Linked DNA regions of Homo sapiens: region 1 is linked to region 2. Evidence: promoter capture Hi-C in human tissues and cell types (Jung and others, 2019). All regions are on one chromosome and are shown on one strand. The core of a region is centred on a gene start or on the middle of the fragment in contact, and the rest is flanking DNA. Distances in the headings are between cores, read along the strand shown. Region 1 overlaps LMO3 (LIM domain only 3). Region 2 holds the start of MGST1 (microsomal glutathione S-transferase 1).

Region 1 (6,246 bases), core at 455-2,954, 250 kb after region 2:
CTGTTAAGATTTGATACTTAGTGTACAAACTATGGAAGATTTTTCTTTCTTTTTCTCTTAAATATAGCTACTAGTGCCATAAAGGAGAAAAAAAATGGAAAGACATCAAATTTTCCATAATAATAGTTTCTATAACCCTTAAGAAAATATCTTACAGTCTAAATTATTATATTTTCATATTATTTAATATCTCAAATCATCATTCAAAGAACTTATAAATCACATCATCATTATCACTACTCAAAGTAACACAAGTAAAACACAGATCTTTAAGTCTCATTGCTCATAATTAGGAGTGTTTCTTTCTTTCTGTTTATGGAGGGAGAAGTGTATTAAGAAGCTAAATGTAATTGGCAAAAATATTTTACTTTTCACTGTATGTAAAAAATTATCTGGCCCAGGACAATACTTGTAACCAACAATATATGTGGACAGGCAAATTACTATTTTATTACTTTCCTTATTCTTACTTATGTTCTTAATAATTTAGACATGAAATATAAATATGTAAGTTATTTATGTTCAGTTTGGTGCCTCAGAGAAATTACATAATATCAAAGGGCCAAAAATAAAACAACTTTTAAAATAGAACTTAAGTGATTAAACATTGGTTATATAAAATACAAAATGGAAGTATGCTGAATTTGGAGGAAAATGAGAAAAATTACTTTTAAAGCTCAGGAAAATAACCACAGAATATTACTTGTTCACTGATTATATTACAGATTCTATGTAATTAAATAAACAATTAGATAGTGGCAACTTTAGGTGTACCTTCCTTTTTCCTTTAGCTAATTTCACCCATTGCCTGAAATCATACCTCTCACACAGTAAGCATTTAATAAACATTTTTGAACAACTATTTGTATCTAATCAAAGAAATTAATTTGTAAATAAAATCTGCTTGACTATATTTGTTGATTTACCATACAGAATCAGACTATTTTAATTTGCCAATCAGAGACATATGCAGTTGAACATCTACACAATTTCACTGAGACACATGCTTTCCACATAAAACTAAATACCACATCTGCGGCATAATCTATAACACGTAACACAGTGTTTTACACACACCAATTCTCCACTTCACTTCTGCAATTTTAAGTGTTGATGAAGTTGCCAAATAAGTCACATTATATACAACAAACTTTCAGTTTAAATAAGGGACAAGATTGCTGTTAACAACTTAGTTTGAAATGTTAACAACCGTTAGGCTGTTAACATAACAACTGGCCATTAATGTGGTAATGACCAATTTAAGCGGAAATCGTACTCTGAGAAATGAATATATTGGCAATCAGGACCAGGGTTTATATTTGAAAGAATATTATATACTTTTAATAAGTTAACCACCATTAAAAGTTTGAGCCTATCAGGAGGTAACTGAAAGTTATTCTACAAAAAGCCACATACACTCTTATAGAGATACAAAAACTTCTGATATGAAAACTATTTTTGATAAATGCGTTTTAGCAAAACACTTGAGACTATCAAATATATTTTTACTACCACAAGGAAAAAGAAAACAAAACAAATCTAAGATTACTGTCTTTGCTCGATGCTATGTTGACAGCTAAGAAGCATGTTATACTCACAATATAGGTATTTCCTTGGCAAATTTTTATTTTTGTTTTCAAAAACCCCAGATATTTCAGTTGACATTCTTTCAAGTTTACTTAATTTTTGTCCTTTGGTTTATTAAAACACCTTAACATTGCCCGGGCTATATAAACTCCTTATTTGAAATGGTAACATAAATCCACTTGAGATACTGAAATTACAAACAAATGTAAAAGTCAAAAGGAGTCAAAAAGCTATGACTATTGGTTAGTACAGATAAAGCAAAACTAAAAAGCAGTATTAAATCACTAAAAGCAAATACAAATGCTTTATGTGGAAATGAGGCTCTAATTCACAATGGGCAGAAGAGAAATTTTTATTTCAAAGAGGAAAGTTCAAAGACCGGAGAGTTCTAAAAAAATGAACATTGTACATTAATTTTGATTCGTTGTGCCAACACAATGAGGGAAATCCTGGCTGGAGAGAGTGACTTCTCATTGTTGGCACCTTGCATGTGTTTTACGCACTTGGAACACAGAGAAGTAGTAACAAGTGGCCATAATTAGTCAGGAGGCTGTCAGATGAGGCCGTCCTAAGAGCGAGAAGGAGTAGAATCTGATAAACAGTACCGCTTTCACCCTCTTGTAACTACCATTAATCAAATGATATATTTTTATATCTAAAGATTGGATCTGACTGAAAATAGCTGAATTATATACTAAGAACGACCAAATTCCCTAGAAAACACCTCATCAAATGACCAAGGTACTAAAGGAGTTACCATTGATTGATAAATTTTGTCATAAGGGAAAAAATTCCAAATAAATCGCTTAATGTCAGACCAGAAAAATGATAAATTGTATTAAATATGAAAATCCCAATGATGCCATATATCATTTCTCTAATTTGATAGATCCTACTTTATTAATATAAGTAATTTGCAGCTGAAGTAAGTCACAAAGTTGCCTGAAAAGCAAAATAATTTTCCTTCAGCAGAAATTCTGTGTTGAGTACTTAATGCTGGAAAACAAGCTTTAGTAGGCTTCATAGCTCCATAACCAAGAACACCTGCCTTGTCCTGAAAGCATTCAGATGTTTACAGGTTGGAGAGTGGCTGTCATTTTCCTATAATGATGGAGGTCTTTACTTTGTTATTATCCATAAAACTACTGGCAAGTCTGAGGCGGTTCAATTGCTTAGTTGTATTTTTGAGATTCCCGTTTAGAATGTCATGAGGTGGGGCGAGAGGAAGATGTATCTACACTTGGGGAAAGTTTTCAAAACTCTACAATAAATGCACTAATAGATATTAACCAAGGATTTGCACCTGACTTCCTCTGACACACCTGAAACAGAGAAGACAGCTGAATAACTTTAGAAGACTAAATTCAGGTCCAACTTAGAGGCAACAATTAAACTCTTTTACACAGTCCATTTTTTTCAAGTTGAACTTTTTAAAAATAGTTAAGATATTTTGCCAAATGGCTGATCAATTTCTTTGTGTTATGCTCAACCCCCATTCCCCCTTAAGCTCCAAAAAAAAAAAAAAAAAAAAAAAAGAAAAAAAAGAAAAAATAAGTAAATCAACCTGAATGCTGATTTCGACCAAATACATCCTTGACATTAACTGGCAGTTTCAACATAGGCAGCGCCATAACCAACTGCCTGAGTGTGCAGGCAAGCCAAATTGAAATACTTTAAATATTGTGGTTTGTTGGCTATTCCTTAAGCATTAATTTGAGTAACACACACAGGGCAACGCTTTGAAGGCTGACAGGTAACTTCTTTCAGGAATATAAGCTGGCAGTAAGGAAATGAAACAAGCAAACAAAAAATACACTTACAAAAGTACTTTAAAAGGCATCCAGTCATCACTGGTGTGCAAGGATAATTCCTACCTCAGATAGTCTCTGCGACAAAGGATAAGATTAGCTTTAGTGTACAGGGTGGAGCCCACCTCTCCCAAGCGACAGTCACAGCAGGCACACTTCAGGCAGTCTTCATGCCAGTATTTGTCCAGTGCCTTTAGAAGATACCGGTCCTTGATCTTTCGGTTGCAGCCAGCACAACCTTTCGGCTTGGTGTCTGGCTGGACTGAGAGCATTTGTATACCTAAAGGAAGACAAAAGCAAAAAAGAGAGCTGAGACTACCAGACAGAATAAAAAGACCTCAAACAAGTTAAATATTTAATATTTCCTTATTCTAGGAGTGTTAGCTTTTCTTGTTTAGGGCTATACTGAAATCAAACCCAATTTTGGAAACAAAAAGTCTCAAACTTTATCAAGTGCTTATTAAATCATTCAAAAAGTTACACATGCCAAGTGACAATAATAATAAATTCATGTTGACCATGGTAAATTGACATTATAAATATGAAGTTCAATAACATTAAATAATTTTATAGTATCTTCATTCTCCCCATAGAGCAGTTCCTTTAGAAAGAAAATGTGAGTAAATAACAATCTGAAAAGAAAGCTATTTAACAAATTAATCTATGCACAGTCCCTACAAGTAAAAAAATGAGTTTTGCTTAACTGTTTAAAAATTTCACTTAATATGTGCTTGATGGTGGAAGGAGAGGGCACCTGGTATGGGGTTACACTAACCTTATTCAGCAGTAGAGGTGTTTATAGTTAAGTACACAGAACAGCTACCCAAAAAGCTCACCAATCCTATATTTCTTGCTTGCATCCAAATACTTCTTCTATGTCCTTGATATTTCAAAGTATTCATTGTGTTCAAATATAACATTTATACTCACAAGCATCAGTCAGCACCTATATTAATGGCAGATTACTTAACTATATACTATATGCTTTTATGTAAACCTAAAGTATATGATTATACCATTTATTACCATAAACATGCAATTATTTGTTTTATAAAGGAAAGAAAAAACAATAGAAGGCAAGATCTAAATATATATACAATTATACAAACATATATAAGTAAATATATACATGTTATATGTATACTATGCTAAACATAGAAACATTTATATATTTTAAAGGTATAAATCCATCATAAATAAGGAATCCAGCTGGATTCCATGGGCTTTACAGTTTGATTGAAATCTTTTGAATGAATGGACATTCACCTTGAGTGTCTTCTTATTTCCTAGGTATTAAAACACCCAGCTTTAGCAAGAAGCTGGACCAACTATCCAATGCCTCATATTTATCAAATAACTCATTTTAAGCACTATAAAGTACTGCAGACATCATCAATTCCAAATTCCCTCATTTTACAAATTATGTTACCGAGGCCCAAGAGAGGTTCAGAGACTTGCTCAAAGCTGAAAGACAGTTACGCTATAGACTCCAGCCAAATGGCCTTCTTACAGTCCAGAGACCCTTCTGCTGCATTATGTTTGCTCTCCTAGGCATAAAGTTTTAAACTTGCATGTAGAAGGATACAAAACACCAAATGTGCATGCATTATAGGATAAGAAATGTCAAGCTATAATCTGCACTTTTGTACATTTTCCTTCTCCAAAACAGCTAAACCTCCTCCAGTTTCCTCTGATATCTTATGATGAAGGCTTCACCCCCATCACAACTTTCACAACCTTTTAAAAAAAAAATCCCACTGGTAAGAGACATCAAGGCATCCGCAGAGCGGAATAACTTTTCTAACTACAAATAATACATGAGTTGCACAAAATATTGTTAGGATGTTGAACTTTCATTAGAAAATAACTCGTCTGGTAGAGTTGTGTAGGGAATGGCAGGAAATAAAGCAGAGTAGCTGTTCTTTCTTTCTGCATCATAAGCATAGCTGTAGTCACCGGAGCTGCAGACTAACAGCTGGATTTGTAAGAAGAGCAGGTGGTATCCCTATAGCCTGCTTTCTGTTCCTTTCCTTTGAAGGAGCTAAGGGCCTAGTGTAGATTAATCATAACCCTTGATAGCTCTGCTAAATCTCACTCTCTAGAACTTCTAACAAATGAAGTTTCTTTGATCAGAACTAGTTATCCTCTTCTAGCAAGGTTCCACAAGGAGTGAATCCCATTAATTACAGTGAACAACAGATCCAAGTGCCTGTTAACCACATATCTAGGGGGAAGGGGAAGTTTTGATTTACTCAGTGAAATTCTGGATGGTGTTACTGAAAACACCTAGATAATAAATATTAAGAGAAGCCATTCTAATTAAGCCATCCTAATTAACGGCCATTCTATTAAATTTGTAAGGCTATTATTTTTATTTATCACAAAGCTCAAAGATGAAAAATCGAAAAAAAAAAAAATCCCAGTAGCAGCTAAGTTATATTTCCCACAGTTGTGTTTCTACCATCAAGCATAGAAGGTCAGCTGTTTTATTCAAAATGCTTTGCAACCAAGACAGGGGATACCAACATTTGGCACAAGTAACACTACCCTACTTGTCTTCACAAAATGTTTTTGTTGTGTTGACATTTTAATTTAGCACTCAGAGGCCAATTAATATTTGAAACTCTTACATTCTGTTTGGCCTTGGGCATAAAAGGAGTTTGATATTTCACACTCCATCCTGGTACCTTATTTGAAGAACATCATGGCAATTCTCTTGAAAATGGAATCTCTTGAATTCCATGCAAGTTAACAATTGTAGCAAAAGAACTATTTTGTAGTCACCATGTTACCGTGTACTTAAAAGGCATAAAGCAGTCAGCAGTCTCCCCTCTTCCACCAGAAGAACATG
Region 2 (5,760 bases), core at 70-2,569:
ACCATTCAACTAGCATTCTGTAGACCAAATTATCTAAACAGTAGCTCTCCTCTTCCTTTTTCTGCCATGTTATCCATAAGATTTGGCCTGTATCACCTTATAATAAATGAAGAGAGTCTTAAATTCTTATAATACCAAACTCCTTTGGAGAGAATTCAGAATAGATTTATGTCATCTCAAATTCTATCCTATTCCAGTTAATGTTACAGACAGATTCTAGTATACTTTACAAAGATAGGTGAATAAGTAGAGTTTTGAAAAGATACAGACATAAAAGTGAAGAACAGATGCCTTCTGATGCTAGATTTTCCAAAACTCCTACTGTTATGCTTATATAGAAATCATTCTCAGACCTTCCTTGGATTAATTTCTGTTCCTAGAGCAAACTGGTAGTTATTTCTTTCTTTAATAGAACATGAACTTGTCCATCACATCCTAGAAAGTTAGTCCTAGGGATATCCTTTAAAGCCTAAAGGAGTAAATTAAGAGCAAAAAAAGGAAGTAGACCTTGCAACAGGTGGTGAGTGTCTGAGATATAGCACTAGGAGAGAAATAATATAGATTGAAAACAGAAATCCTTAAACATTTCTCATATAAACCCATGAAAGATAGATCCATAAATATTGTGGGGACTATGGGGACTAGGAAGCTTGGAAGTATCCCTAATCTAGATAGTGATGGTAGGCTAAATATCTACGGCTTCCGTAAACGTTCCTCTAAACCTCCCTGTAAAAAACACACTAAGCTGATTGTGTAATGAGCTGATCCAGTACAATTGCCTCCAATTTCATTCTGGACCCTGAACAGGAGGGGACATCGTGACAAAGCAAATTGTCTGGTATCATGAATTTGGAACACCGTAAGTGATCTTTACTGAGGGTTACATTCTGTCATTGTCAGCCTTTTAAGGAGGCCTTGCCACCAGCGCAGGGGAGGTGAAGTCTAAGGGAAGGTAATATTGTCAATGCCTGCTAATTAGTTCTACCCTGGAGATTTTAACTTTCTGCGAAGTTTTTAAAAACAACTTCCAAAACTCTGCTGATCCTGAAATGTTCGAGAATTCAGAGTTCCTAGACAATGGCTACTGTCCCCCTTCCCACTGATTAGGGGAGTTGGCATTTCAGGAACCAGAGTTTCTAAGGGCGCCAAATAGAAGGGCTCAAAGGGAATCAGCAGGCGATGGTTACTGTGGGCGGGTAAATCAGGTGATTTAGAGGAGGGGTTTGGCGAGGTTGGGGTCGGGCTTTAAACGTGGGAGGGCTAATTAACAGGAGATTAACTGGAGAGGGGCGGTGCCTGCGTCCGGCCCGCGCGGCCACAGTCCCTGCATTGCGCGCGACCCGGCGGCGGGACAGGCTTGCTGCTTCCTCCTCCTCGGCCTCACCGTGCGTACTGGGAGGGGAGAAGGGGACCGCATGCAAAGGGTGGCAGGCAGGGAGGGCCAGGGTGGGTGGCAGATGGAAGACTTGGGGGGGTCTCTGCCAGCTGGAAGTGCTTGGCTCCACTTAGCAGCTAAACTTAGCTTTTCAATCGATCGCTTTTGAAAGGGAATTGTATTTCTGTCCCCGTGCGGGTAAGTTTTCCCATTTCTCAAACTCCAGGAATGAAACGAGAGAGTCTTTTCATGCTTGAGTGATGATTTCCAAACTTAGCCTTTTCAAGTCAAAGTAACCTCCTGTTTGAAAGGGTCCCTTGAACTCTGGGGAAGGAGGAAAAGGCACGTGTAGTAATGGAGGAAATGCCTGTAGTTTGAACGACTGCTGTTCTCCCCAAGAGTGCAAAAGCCTGCGATGTCTCAGGTTTCATGGGCATAGTGGCCTTTATGCCTATTGTAAGGCAGGATTTGCTCTTCTGAGTTCACTTTGATAGGAGAAACATCAGCAAGTTTTAAAATAATACTAAATAATACTACTGCTAATAATGCTAGCTATCGAAACAAGAGGATGTGGGTTAGATGATAATATTTTTGTGTGATATTATAGCCAGTGACAAGAGAGCTAAGGGTGAGCCCCTTGGGACGGTTCTCACCTGTGCCCCACTTCCCCAGTCTGGAGGAGGAAGCCATGTGGAAGGAGAAAAGGAGAAGGGAACTCTCTTTTTCGGGAATTAAGGTGTCATATATTGCTCTAGCTGGCTTGGGACAGAGGAGAGAGGAGTGCATGTAAATCTTCTAGTCTCTCTGCTTCTCTTGAAATGTGGCAGTCTGAGCTCCACGTTTATATTCCCCTATTTCTTCTCCCTAATTTCTTACCCAGTGAGTGCTGAGTGGGTGCCCGCAAGCATTGCTGTATAGCACCCAGGCCTCCAGTGAGCAATCCTTAAAGCCCAGTTTTCCTGGGGTCCCAGCCTGCTGTGAGTCCCAGCCTACACCTACCTTTTGCATATGCTTTTCTTGGCCTTAGGATAGTACTGGACTTTGTTGTCCTCTGCTGTTTCCAAAATAAGAGGGCTATGTGTGCGATTATCTTTGGTAATTAAAAAAAAAAAAAAAAAAAAGGCAAATCAGTCCAAATTTGGATATTACCCTCTCTGGCAGACGAGTAAAATTTTTCTACCGCTTTGTTTTAGAGTGGTGTCTATGAATCCCTGAGATTGGAAAAGGAGGTCAGGTCAGCACAGAGAAAGGCCTTACCCCACCACTCTCCCGAGAGGCACCAGCATTTCACCTGCAGCCTCTGGGCTCTGAACCCCACTTTGCATGAGACCACATAGTGGGCTGAGTCTGCAGCCACCACGATGCCTTCAGGAAATGCTAGAATTCATCTAGAGTTCCAGATTAACGTATCCGCAACATGGCCACCGAATTATCTTTTTTCTTTATCTCATGTGTAGTGTTTGTTAGTTTTAGAAGGTACAAAATTGCAGAGTCATGGCCCTGGGGATGCGTGCCCAGATTATTCATGTGTTTCACAATATTGATGCAGAAAGGCTGGCCACCTCATCCTGAGAAGAGAACTTTGCTCATTTTGGCCAAAAGCCTGTAAAGGGAAAGGGCGTTCCTCAACTGAGAAGTGAAGATTCTTCTCTGCTAGATAGTACGGGGGTTTGGGGGGAGGGGTAGAAAACAGGAATGAGATTTGACAAGGAAAGGCCTCCAGAAGACCAGAGCTGTTGAGAATTCTTAGCCTTGATGGTGGGTAGCCCAGAGGTAAACACTTGAGAAAACTAAGTTGCAGTCTTGGTCTCTCCACTGTGAATTTGGGTCATATTACTCACTACTTTTCTGGGCCTTAATTTCCTTACATACTAAAGGTAGAAAAAAATATTATTTGCTCTACCTCAGGATTTTTCGGGTCAAGCGAGATAAAATATGCAAAAGCTTTTTGAAAATTCTAAAATCCTCAGTGCCTAGAACAGCGCCAAAGTCGGAAGTTTTTTATTTACCAAACACACAGCATTTAACAGGTCCCAGAGCTTCTTTTTTTTTTTTTTTTTTTGAGACGGGGTCTCGCACTGTCACCCAGGCTGGAGTGCAGTGGCACGATCTCAGCTCACTGCAAACTCCGCTTCCCGGGTTCACGCCATTCTCCTGCCTCAGCCTCCCGAGTAGCTGGGACTACAGGCACCTGCCACCACGCCCAGCTAATTTTTTGTATTTTTAATAGAGACGGGGTTTCACCATGTTAGCCAGGATGGTCTCGATCTCCTGACCTCGTGATCTGCCCGCCTCCGGCTCCCAAAGTGCTGGGATTACAGGCATGAGCCACCGCGCTCGGCCCCCGCTTTTCTAACTTTATTCAGCTAAGGCTCACAAGAATCCAGTGAAATGGGAGTTCTTATTCAACTCCTTTCACAGGTAAGGTGAAGAGGTCCCAGAGAAGTTAAGTTACACTTACTAAGTGGCAGGGTCGAGATCCACCCGAATGCCAATCTAGTTCCAGAGTTTTGAATACTTGACACTCTACCCCATGTCCTCTTATGAAGAAGTCACCTCCACATTAGGGGACAGAGCTCTGGTCTCTGGCAAGAGAGGTTGAGATACTTATTACCATGCTGGCCAATGAATGGAGAATATAATGAGCAAACAAACCACTGTGCAAACATGATTGATCATTGTAAATATTTTCTATAATTCATAACCAAATTAGTGTTTTTCCCTGCTTACTTTTCTTTGATTATTTCTCCTTCATTCCTTGAATCCTCAAACCACTTAACATTTCATCCTGTTATTTATTATTATACAGGACCACTCTTCTCCCTCCTGACAACCTTTCCTGGTAAAAGGCTTTCAGTAATTTTGTTGTGGCTGCAGAGCCAACCATGATAATGGCTGCAGTTTTGTGCAGCAAACTCGTGGCAATTGATTGATAAATCAGCTTTGGGGGAAAAAAAGTTTACAACAGCATTGCCTTAATCCATGCTATAAACAACTACTATTTCTTAATGTTCTTACCTTAACTGCTCATTACCTGGCTCTTGGGTACCTGTGAAGGGGAAGATGTTACCCTGGAGAGATGGTTCATTGACTCATCAGGTGTGTGTCAGATGCTTGGTGCTGGCCAGTCTCCCAAACCCACAGACTTGAGGAGTTAAGCCACATTCTTCGTGATTGAGAAACTCTGTGTGAAGTGCACAGTGTGTTGTTCATTTTTAAAGAAAAGGCCTCCCATTGCCCTTTTTCCCAGCCACTGACTTCTTTGTGTACTTTCCTACCAACAGTCCTGGGAGGCTGCCATTTTTTTCTCTACTCTTTCAATACTGATTTTCAATGAGGGGGAAAAAAAAGTTCTCTGGACTTTTGTTCCATCAATACATAAATTTCATTCTGGGAACATTAGTAGAGGCCTATAGAGAATGTTTTAGTTTTAAAATTATTGTTAAGTAGCAACTTTCTATTTGATAAACTTACCTTAATTTTAAAAAACTTCACACGCTTGCTGTATTTCTTCACATCTTTGTACAGAGGCCTGGGACTTAGGGATCCTTTCTTAAGCTAATTACTTTACCTACACTCTGAAGGATAGTGCAGTTTATTCATGACTTTCACCCCTTCAATACTAGAACAAGCAGACACATTAAATGTTACCAAAAATATTATATTGCACTGAGAGCTAATCTAACATACTGTGCTTTCAAGACTAGAGACTTATGGAGGTTGATTAATTTGCTATCTAGGGGATTTTTTAAAAACCTTGCGCATGTAGTTTCTGTTTGCCTAAATCCAAGCTGTATATTTTTAGCCTAAGAAAACAAAAATAGGGGGGCCAGGCATGGTGGCTCATGCCTGTAATCCTAGCAGTTTGGGAGGCTGAGGCGGGTGGATCACCTGAGGTCAGGAGTTTAAGACCAGCCTGACAAATATGGTGAAACCCCGTCTTTACTAAAAATACAAAAATTAGCCAGGTGTGGTGGCGGGCACCTGTAATCCCAGCTACTCGGGAGGCTGAGGCAGGAGAATGGCTTGAACCCAGGAGGCAGAGGTTGCAGTGAGCCAAGATTGCACCACTGCACTGCAGCCTGGGCGACAGAGTGAGACTCCATCTCAAAAAAAGAAAAGAAAAGGAAACAAAAATAGGGGTTACTTAGGTAGCTTTGATTTCTTTATCTGCAAAATGGGAATTTTAATACCTCACCACATAACTGGAAAAAGAAAGAAGATGACAGATATAAGGGGTGCCTACTTGTGCCAGCCACAGAGTAGGCATTCACTTAATGTCAATTGAATTAGAATTAAGCAGAATTAAAGAGTTGAGAGCAGAATTAATCAAGCCTCTTGAAAGAGAGAGTATAGTGTAGTAACCGTATGGGGTGTTCGTGTCC

The links. Contacts are between HindIII fragments. The study calls those that stand out against the background at their distance.
Region 1: a contact is called between a fragment that was not itself captured here and the fragment with the promoter of MGST1 in region 2, in 1 of the 25 tissues and cell types used here (hippocampus).

The regions. Positions count from the first base shown.
Region 1 is chr12:16,597,194-16,603,439 of GRCh38, forward strand. LMO3 (LIM domain only 3) reads right to left here. Exons shown (of 4, transcript NM_018640.5): 2 at 3,462-3,675. The coding sequence starts at 3,667. Among named protein-coding and RNA genes, the nearest start is that of LMO3, 5.8 kb to the right of the region's middle. The HindIII fragment of the contact is 6,195 bases long and covers 1-4,802 here.
Region 2 is chr12:16,346,326-16,352,085 of GRCh38, forward strand. MGST1 (microsomal glutathione S-transferase 1) reads left to right here and starts at 1,320. Exons shown (of 4, transcript NM_020300.5): 1 at 1,320-1,385. RefSeq lists enhancers at 410-1,339, 2,270-3,199. The HindIII fragment of the contact is 4,760 bases long and covers 1-4,731 here.